2 separate regions of the Homo sapiens genome follow, and region 2 is linked to region 1. Evidence: promoter capture Hi-C in 16 types of primary human blood cells and fetal thymus (Javierre and others, 2016). All regions are on one chromosome and are shown on one strand. Each heading gives the region's core, a stretch centred on a gene start or on the middle of the fragment in contact. The rest is flanking DNA. Distances are from core to core; before and after follow the strand shown. Region 1 holds the start of ZRANB2-AS1 (ZRANB2 antisense RNA 1). Region 2 holds the start of LINC03102 (long intergenic non-protein coding RNA 3102).

Region 1 (4,864 bases), core at 644-3,143:
ATGTATTTGTTTCCCTGTGTCTATTCCCTTAAGTCTACAGGCACTGTCTAGTAATTTTATAGTTTTCAGCGGCACCCCAGGGGACAGGACACCTTGGCCTTTTTATAATCACTCTAGAGTCACAAAGCAGAAAGGAAAAAAGTTAACGATCAGCTATGCAAAGGCTTGTGTGGATTGCTTAAGGACAGGCGATTTTCACTTTACCAGAGTTACTAAAGGACTTCAGGAGAAGGATCCCGTCCCTGTAGGAGCGTTTGTGGTTGAAGAAGCAGGAGGACGAGCGCTCAGGTGCGCCTCGGCAGTTTGCCTGGGGTCCGCAAGTCCAGTGCTACTTATTAGCTGCTTGCCGTCCACCGACACTTTAGCGGAGAACTGGAGGAGACCCCAGTGGGCTCCCGGTCCGGCCAGGAGCAGGGCGTTTCAGAGGAGACCGTCTGGGGCTTCCCAACCCAGGCGATCAGGATAGGCAACAGCCAAGAGAGGCGCTCAGTTGCTTTGCACCCTCCTCCCACCTCGGTTCTGTCCACACCCACGGGCGCCCCGCCCCCTCGGCCTTATAAAGGGGACTCGGCACCTCCGCGCGCCTCGCCACCAGAGGTTTCCCAGAGAGGAAGGCGTGGCTCCCTCCCGGGCCAGTGAGCCCTGGCGCCGCCGCGGCCGCGGTCCCAGCAGCGGAGTAGGGCGGCGGCTGCGCCCCGCACCATGGGGGGCAGCCCAGCCCCAGCCGCGGTAAACGCCGACCTCCGCCGCCGCCCGCGCCGCGTCTGCCCCCTCCCGCTGCGGCTCTCTGGACGCCATCCCCTCCTCACCTCGAAGCCAACATGAAGGAGACCCGGGGCTACGGAGGGGATGCCCCCTTCTGCACCCGCCTCAACCACTCCTACACAGGCATGTGGGCGCCCGAGCGTTCCGCCGAGGCGCGGGGCAACCTCACGCGCCCTCCAGGGTCTGGCGAGGATTGCGGATCGGTGTCCGTGGCCTTCCCGATCACCATGCTGCTCACTGGTTTCGTGGGCAACGCACTGGCCATGCTGCTCGTGTCGCGCAGCTACCGGCGCCGGGAGAGCAAGCGCAAGAAGTCCTTCCTGCTGTGCATCGGCTGGCTGGCGCTCACCGACCTGGTCGGGCAGCTTCTCACCACCCCGGTCGTCATCGTCGTGTACCTGTCCAAGCAGCGTTGGGAGCACATCGACCCGTCGGGGCGGCTCTGCACCTTTTTCGGGCTGACCATGACTGTTTTCGGGCTCTCCTCGTTGTTCATCGCCAGCGCCATGGCCGTCGAGCGGGCGCTGGCCATCAGGGCGCCGCACTGGTATGCGAGCCACATGAAGACGCGTGCCACCCGCGCTGTGCTGCTCGGCGTGTGGCTGGCCGTGCTCGCCTTCGCCCTGCTGCCGGTGCTGGGCGTGGGCCAGTACACCGTCCAGTGGCCCGGGACGTGGTGCTTCATCAGCACCGGGCGAGGGGGCAACGGGACTAGCTCTTCGCATAACTGGGGCAACCTTTTCTTCGCCTCTGCCTTTGCCTTCCTGGGGCTCTTGGCGCTGACAGTCACCTTTTCCTGCAACCTGGCCACCATTAAGGCCCTGGTGTCCCGCTGCCGGGCCAAGGCCACGGCATCTCAGTCCAGTGCCCAGTGGGGCCGCATCACGACCGAGACGGCCATTCAGCTTATGGGGATCATGTGCGTGCTGTCGGTCTGCTGGTCTCCGCTCCTGGTAGGTAGTTCCAGGGTTGGGGGAAGTCAGGATGCGTGTGCGAGTAAGCGGGAACCTAAGACTTTGCTAAGTGGCAGCACCCGCAGGGGTGTGTTTGCAACCGCAGAGCGCTGAAGTGTCCTTTCCTCCTGCCCGCGCGGTCTTGGTTACAGCTTCAGAGCTGAGCTCCTCACTTACTAGCTGAGCGCCTTCCAAGAGCCAGGATTCGCATTAGGCACTGTTTATGAGCACATAGAGATCACAGGGCTGCTCACATTCTAGTCGGGTAGGAGACAGGATGTGTCATTGAAATGACATATATGCAGAGCTAGAAGTTTGTCCTGAGTGCATTAAAAGCAGAATTGCTATGATAACTGTAGCCTGATATTGTGGGGTTTTTTTTTTTTTTTTTTTTTGAGACGGAGTCTCGCTCTGTCACCCAGGCTGGAGTACAGTGGCGCAGCCTCGGCTCACTGCAAGCTCCGCCTCCCGGGTTCACGCCATTCTCCTGCCTCAGCCTCTCCGAGTAGCTGGGACTACAGGCGCCCGCCACCACGCCCGGCTAATTTTTTTTTTTTATTTTTAGTAGAGACGGGGTTTCACCGTGGTCTCGATCTCCTGACCTCGTGATCCACCCGCCTCGGCCTCCCAAAGTGCTGGGATTACAAGCGTGAGCCACCGCGCCCGGCCGGGTTTTTTTTTTTTAATTTCAAATTCCTCTTTCACGTTAATAAGATTTTCAGTCTGCAACCCCATACAGTCACAGCCCTCCTGCAGCTTCTGAAAGACTGCGCGACCTATGGGTGCCTTCAAGGTTCATTCTTGATGAGGCAGGAGAATGAAAGATACGAGTTGCCTCCTCAGCCTTTCGCCATGGTGCTTGACCCTCTAGGAAGTGCCCGAACGACAGTCAGTGGGATCCGGAAGCTCAGCAGCTTCTTCAGGCCAGCATTTACTTACCCTTGTAGCACTCAAGCAGGGTTCGCTAATCCTGAGATAGGAGGTAGAGGTTTCTCCATGTCCTAGCTCCTCACACCAGAGCAATGCAGAGGAGCAAGGGATGTTTGCAGAGGCTCTTTGCCTAACACCTGCCCTTACGTGATATTTTTGAGGTTTTTTTGTCTGTGTTACTTTTAGCTAGAAATGTCCGTGTGTAAGTGCTGTTTACTAATTCCTGAAGAATGGATGCTTACTTAGGCCCTGGGGTGTCTGGGTTAATAGATGTTGCAGAAAGAGCGATATGGTCACTGTTACAAAGGTATAACCAACTATATGTATTATACAGTTGTGGAAAACCTTTGAAACACGTGAACGCAGTTTTTTTTCTTTCCTAATTATGGTAAAATATATTACATACAATTCAGTATTTTAACCATTATTATGTGTACAGTTCAGTGGCATTAGGCATTAAGTACGTTGAGTTTTTTGTGCGCCATGTATACTTTTAAATCCCTTGCATTTGAAAATAGAAATGTAATTTCTTTAACCTGGTTTGGTAGATTGGAGCACAAACCTTGGCTCCAAATCAGTGACATGAGGGGACAAGGAGTGTTATGCTGAGACCTAACTGCCCACAAGTCGCTGTATGGTCACAGTTCTTTATTCCAGGAGTTGGAACTCAGGCTGATGTCATCACTATGGCTTATCAAAACCAGCACCAGTTTTAGATATACAGTATTTACTTTTATGGCTGAGGAATGGAGTGTACAGGTGGCCAACTAGGAAGGAAGAAAGAGTTCTAAATAGTAAACACTTTACTAAAGTGTGGTAATTAATATAACTTTAAAGGCAAACAGGGTATCAGTTTTTCACAAGTGTCATTTGAGTCCCACATCTTTGAGTTTGCTGTATCACATGATTTATATCCTAGGGAAAAAAAATGCAGTTAAATCAATTGAACAAAATACCCATACAGTTAATCAGACTTATAATTTATTGTTTGTGCATTTTGTTTTTAAGTCAAAGCGAAGCCATGTAGTGTGTTTTTGATTTAGACACTTTAATTCTAGTACCAAAAGTATGGTGGCCTCAGAAAGAAAGTAGATCAATCTTGAAAACTGTAATTTAGGATGGCCAAACTCACTCTTTCAAGAAAGACTGCATTTGAAACTAGTCTTACTTAATTTCAATTTATTTTCATTTGGATAATACTTATTGATTTATAGCATTTTACTGGGTACTTTATTAATTCAATTATAAAAACATTAAACAAAATAAATTAAACATGTGATCATATCAAAAAGGAGAATTTTTTTTTTTTTTGAGACTCTGTCTCAAAAAAAAAAACTCCAGGCTGGAGTGCAGTGGTGAGATCTCAGCTCTCTGCAGCCTCCACCTCCCAGGTGCAAGTGATTCTACTGCCTCAGCCTTTGGAGTCACTAGGATTACAGGCGCCCGCCACCACACCTGGCTAATTTTTGTATTTTTAGTAGAGATGGGGTTTCACCATGTTGGCCAGGCTGGTCTCGAACTCCTGACCTGAGGTGATCCGCCCACCTCGGCCACCCAAAGTGCTGGGATTACAGGCATGAGCCACCGTGCCCGGCCTAGGAGAAATGAGAACTTTTTAAAGAAAATGGTTCCATCGGCTGGGCGCAGTGGCTCACGCCTGTAATCCCAGCACTTTGGGAGGCCGAGGTGAGTGGATCATTTGAGGTCAGCAGTTCGAGACCAGCATTCCAACATGGCCAAACCCCGCCTCTACTAAAAATACAAAAATTAGCGGGGCATGGTGGCATGCGCCTGTAATCTCAGTTACTCGGGAGGCTGATGCAGGAGAATTACTTAGGCTAGGGAGACAGAGGTTGCTGTGAGCCGAGATCACGCCACTGCACTCCAGCACGGGTGACAGAGCAGGACTCCCTCTAAAAAAAAAACAAAAAACAAAAAAAAAACTCCAAATATCTTCAAAAAGATTTACTGTACAAAGTTGGAATTACTACAAAGAAAAGAAACTGGCAAAGCTGCTTTCTTAATAGAGAATTATAAGAATAAAAACACTAGAATTTAGTGAATTGAATTTTCAGCATATTAGTGTTAAAATGAGAGATTAACGCTGTTTTTTCTAACTATGAGTGTAATATAGGTTTCCTGCTAGCATTCGTTAAGTTGGGTGTAGGATACTATTCTAATTGTCCAAACTTCTTACTTGAAAGGACCCTGAGTAT
Region 2 (4,864 bases), core at 1,219-3,718, 690 kb after region 1:
CCGCCTCGGCCTCCCCAAGTGCTAGGATTATAGGCGTGAGCCACTGCGCCCAGCCCGGAGTATTTAGACTACAGATACAGATGTAGTTACATATATTCTGAGCAATAAAGTAATTTAAAATAAAACATATTCAGGAAGCTATGGACACATGTACTGACCCTTGTCTATCTATACCATTTAATCTCTTACACACTACCCATTGTGCCTTTTTTTTTTTTTTGAGACAGTCTTGCCCTGTCACCCAGGCTGGATCTCGGCTCACTGTAACCTCCGCTTGCCAGGTTCAAGCATTTCTCCTGCTCGGCCTCTGTAGTAACTGGGATTATAGGCATGTACCACCAAGCCTGGCTAATTTTTATATTTTTAGTAGAGATGGGTTTTCGTCATGTTGGCCAGTCTGGTCTCGAACTCCTGGCCCCAAGTGATCCGCCTGCCTCGGTCTTCCAAAGTGTTGGGCCTACCCATTGTGTCTTAACCTCTTCTTTCACTAAAAAACCCATTCCTGTCTCTGTTCTAATTCTCTTGTTTCTAGCCTTTGTCGATCTAAAAATAATTTTAATTATGAATGTTTCACTTTATCTTTTCCTTTTCATCTCATTGACTCAGCCTTTCACTGTGCTCCTGGCATTTTTTCTCCTTCTTCCTCCAAATCAGTCTGTAGGTTTTATCTGTCTCAAAGGAATTTCTTCCTTCAGGAACTTCCAGCTGTTATTGGCTCTGGTTTCCTTGGCAACCCCTGCTTCTCAGATTTTTTTTCTGATTACTTAAGAGAAATTTTACAAAATCACTGATAACCACTGATCAGAAACCGTAGAAGAAAGGGAAAGTGCTCTGCATTGCCTCTGAGAAAGGAAGGGGGCAGATTTAGAGGAAAGAGAAAAATACTGAGACCCAGGGAGATGGAAGTAAAATGTGTGAATTAAGTATTGATTTACATGGTTTGTTATTTTCATCTGTCAGTGTACTGCTGTGTCGTCAGATTTCAGAGACAATTACCTCATTAGTTAGATAGCCCTATCATCTATCAAACAAAATACTCCTAGATCTTGTTCAACCATTGTGGAATGTAGGAAATCATATTCCAGATTATTGTGAGAATATAAAACACAAATCTTCAGAGAAGATGAAAGAAAAAAGATGTAGACTAAACTTGCACTAATATTTACATTAGAAACATTATTAGTATGCAATGCAATGAGAATTGAGTAAGGTTAGTAACTACAGATCCTAATTGGAAGTCTGTTGATATATTTAAAAAATATAACGAGTGAGATTTTATTTTGTACAGTACTGCTGTTCTGTATTTCATGTTACCATACTACTGCTTTTGTTAAATGAAGACACCAGGACAGGGATTAGGTGCTTTGTGTAGGGCTAATAGAGATACATAAATTTCTGGCAAAATTCACAACGTTCTTTCTTAGAGACAGATTTAACTGTCTAGTCAGTGTTTGGTGTTGGTGAGCACATAACTATCTAACAAAACTCTCATTAGAAAAAGTTGAAAAACATTCATTTTTCAGAAGCTTTTTGCTATTCAAGGCAAATTGAGCATTATTGAGTTAACTACACCAGGAGAGAAATTAATTTGCTAATTTGTAGAACTACAGAGTATTACCTAGCAAATTCAGTAGTTTAGTTCTCAGGGTTTTTTTTTTTTTCCTTTTGGCATGGAGTCTAGCTCTGTTGCCCAGGCAGGAGTGCAATGGCACAATCTCGGCTCACTGCAACCTCTGCCTCCCAGGTTCAAGCGATTCTCCTGCCTCAGCCTCCCAGGTAGCTTGGATTATAGGGGTCCACCACCACGTCCGGCTAATTTTTGTATTTTTAGTAGAGACGGGGTTTCGCCATGTTGGCCAGGCTGGTCTCGAACTCCTGGCCTCAGGTGATCCACCCGCCTCAGCCTCCCAAAGTGCTGGGATTACAGGCGTGAGCCACTGCGCCTGGCCAGTAGTTTAGTTCTATACTTGAATTGATGGATTGCATTCTATCTTGTAAAATTTGAATAAAAAGTAAATACAGTGTTTACCAGTGAAGTTATTTACTCATTACATATTGATATAATTGATAATCACTACATATTTTATCATATTGAATTCAAGACACTGTGATAACAGATTTTTTTGAAGCAAAATCCTGTTTTAAGTCTTTGGATATAGTACTTTTGCTGACCACTCTTGCATTTGTCTCTCCAACATTATTCCCCACCTCATTCCCATTATGAAACAGTTCACTGTTTGGAGAGCTGGGCCCCACCTCCGGCTCCGAGATCAATCCTGATTGGGTGAAACTAATCTGAGTAACCCCTCCTTCACAGGGGTTTGTCAGATAACCCAGGCTTGAGCCAATCACCGTTCTCTGGGACACAGATTGGACTGAGTTATCTTGTAACTGTCATACTCCAGATTTATGTGGGAGCAGGAACTCCTTTGGACCTTAAGGAGGAAGCACGTGGCTGCTTTTACCTGCTGGCAGTTATCTTGTGTTCTTGAAGGAAGCAGGCCTGAGGAGGACTCCTCATACAGAGAGAAACACCGAGAGATTCACTGAAAAACTGACATGGGATCCTGAGGGGCCACTCTTGAAGACTTATCTCTGCACCTTTCTGGTATGTAAGTCAATACATTCCTTTAATTTAACCCTGTTTCAATTGAATTTATTGTTACTTCTACATGAAAAACAAAAAGTCCTAAATGATATATCTACTCTTTGGCTTCATGTAAGAATTCAAGAGTGTAGCAGCTAATTTCAGTGTAGTTATATTGGGATTATTTAAGAAGTTTATTTAGCATCTCATTACTGAGTCTGCAGTTGTCTTAGTACCTTGTAGATACTTGGGGTTTTGTGTTCTAATAGACTGATTAATTCAACAACTGCTTATTATTAATATAAGCATTCACTCCCTGTAGGGCACTGTGCATACAGCAATGATCAGCATGATTCCAGTGCTCAGAGAGCTCCAAGGATTAGTTGAGACCAGACAAGAATATCAAGGAGGCATGCAGAAGTTACAATGGGAAATCAAAAAGAAGACAAAGGAGGGACACCTAATTCAGAACGATGGGTTTGTTGGATAGGAGAGAAAAGGAGACGAATGGGCAGGTATCATCAAAGATTCCTAAGAAGAAGTTCCTAACTTCTGTTTTTGTGCCATTGACTCTTTGGCAGTGTGGAGAAACCCAGGGACCCATTTTCAGAACAGTGTTTTTAAATGCATAAAATATTTTGGATTAAAAGGAAACTCTGAGTATTGAAATACCTAACAAAATATTTTAAAAGCAAATTTGTAATACAGTAATGTATATGCTTCTTTATTAACTAATTAAAGAACAAGATATAGCAATGAGCATACCTATTAAGATAATTTTAGAGGTACTAATGACTATAAATGAAATTTTGAGTTGTCTGCAGCAACTGTTATGTGAAATGAAAATACCTGTGGTTTTTTTGGTTGTGAAGTCACAGGTACTACTAATGCTAATACTATTGTGGTTTGTGGCATACGTTCATAATAGAATGACATGCTAAATTTTATTTGGAAAGTTAGTTCAACACAATTTCCTGGCTCTGAATTCTATGCCAAGTTAAAAAAAAATTTGTGCTAAGAAGGGATAAAATTTGATGTAATTCTTTTATTTATTTATTTATTTTTTTAGACAGAGTCTCGCTCTATCGCCCAGGCTGGTGTGCAGTGGTGCAATCTCACTGCAACCTTTGCCTCCTGGGTTCAAGCCATTCTCCTGCCTCAGCCTCCCGAGCAGCTGGGACTACAAGCAGACGTCACCATGCCTGGCTGATTCTTTTTGTATTTTTCAGTAGAAATGGGGTTTCACCATGTTGGTCAGGCTGATCTTGAACTCCTGACCTCAAGTGACTTGCCCACCTCGGCCTTCCAAAGTGCTGGGATTACAGGCATGAGCTACCACGCCCAGCCCCAGAAAGCTTTTCTGATCATCCAATTTCTATTTTCCCCAAATAGAATTAATGACTTCCTTTTCTATATTGTATTGGGAGCTTATATAATTTCAATCCTTGTATTTTTCATAATGTATTACAATCATATTTCTATCTTTTTTATAATATATTGTAATCTTACATTTCTGTCATTTTTACAAGCCCTTAAAAATAATGGATGGGGCCAAGTGCAGTGGCTCACACCTGTCATCTCAGCACTTTGGGAGGCTGAGGTGGAAGGATCACCTGGGCCCAGGAGTTCAAGACCAGCCTGACCAACATAGTGAGACACGGCCTCTATAAAAAATAATAATAATAATGAATGGGCTGGGGGCAGTAGCTCACACCTGTAATCCCAACACTTCAGGAAGCCGAGGTGGGTAGATGGCTTGAGTCCAGGAGTTTGAGACTAGCCTGGGTGACATGGCCAAACCCAGTCTCTACAAAAAAATACAAAAATTAGCTGGGCCCTGTAGTCCCAGCACTTGGGAGGCTGAGGCGGGAGGATCCACTTGAGCATGGGAGGTGGAAGTTGCAGTGAGCTGAGATCATGCCACTGCACTCCAGCCTAGCTGACAAAATGAGACTCAAAAAACAACAAAAAATAAGTCTTGGTGTGGTGGCTCATGCCTGTAATCCCAGCACTTTGGGAGGCCGAGGTGGGCGGATCACCTGAGGTCAGAAGTTCGAGACTCAGCCTGGCCAACATGGTGAAACCCCATCTCTATTAAAAATACAAAAATTAGCTTGGCATGGTGGTGGAGACCTGTAATGCCAACTACTTGGGAGGCTGAGGCAGGAGAATTGCTTGAACCCAGGAGGCGGAGGTTGCAGTGAGCTGAGACCACACCATTGCATTCCAGCATGGGCAACGGGAACAAAACTCTGTCTCAAAAATAAAATAAAATAA

What was found. The method cuts DNA at HindIII sites, captures the fragments that hold promoters and counts their contacts. A CHiCAGO score of 5 or more calls a contact.
Region 2: the fragment with the promoter of LINC03102 here is called in contact with the fragment with the promoter of ZRANB2-AS1 in region 1 in 1 of 17 cell types (activated CD4 T cells); the score reaches 7.6 in activated CD4 T cells.

Annotation. Positions count from the first base shown.
Region 1 is chr1:71,043,535-71,048,398 of GRCh38, reverse strand. ZRANB2-AS1 (ZRANB2 antisense RNA 1) reads right to left here and starts at 1,893. Exons shown (of 3, transcript NR_038420.1): 1 at 810-1,893. It overlaps PTGER3 (prostaglandin E receptor 3), which reads left to right and starts at 583. Exons shown (of 4, transcript NM_198719.2): 1 at 583-1,718. The coding sequence starts at 822. RefSeq lists an enhancer at 586-1,169. The HindIII fragment of the contact is 6,286 bases long and covers 1-4,864 here.
Region 2 is chr1:70,358,041-70,362,904 of GRCh38, reverse strand. LINC03102 (long intergenic non-protein coding RNA 3102) reads left to right here and starts at 2,468. Exons shown (of 2, transcript NR_183713.1): 1 at 2,468-2,608; 2 at 2,910-3,346. The region is part of intron 1 of ANKRD13C-DT (ANKRD13C divergent transcript); the gene reads right to left. RefSeq lists a silencer at 2,343-2,536 and an enhancer at 3,773-3,832. The HindIII fragment of the contact is 2,416 bases long and covers 1,529-3,944 here.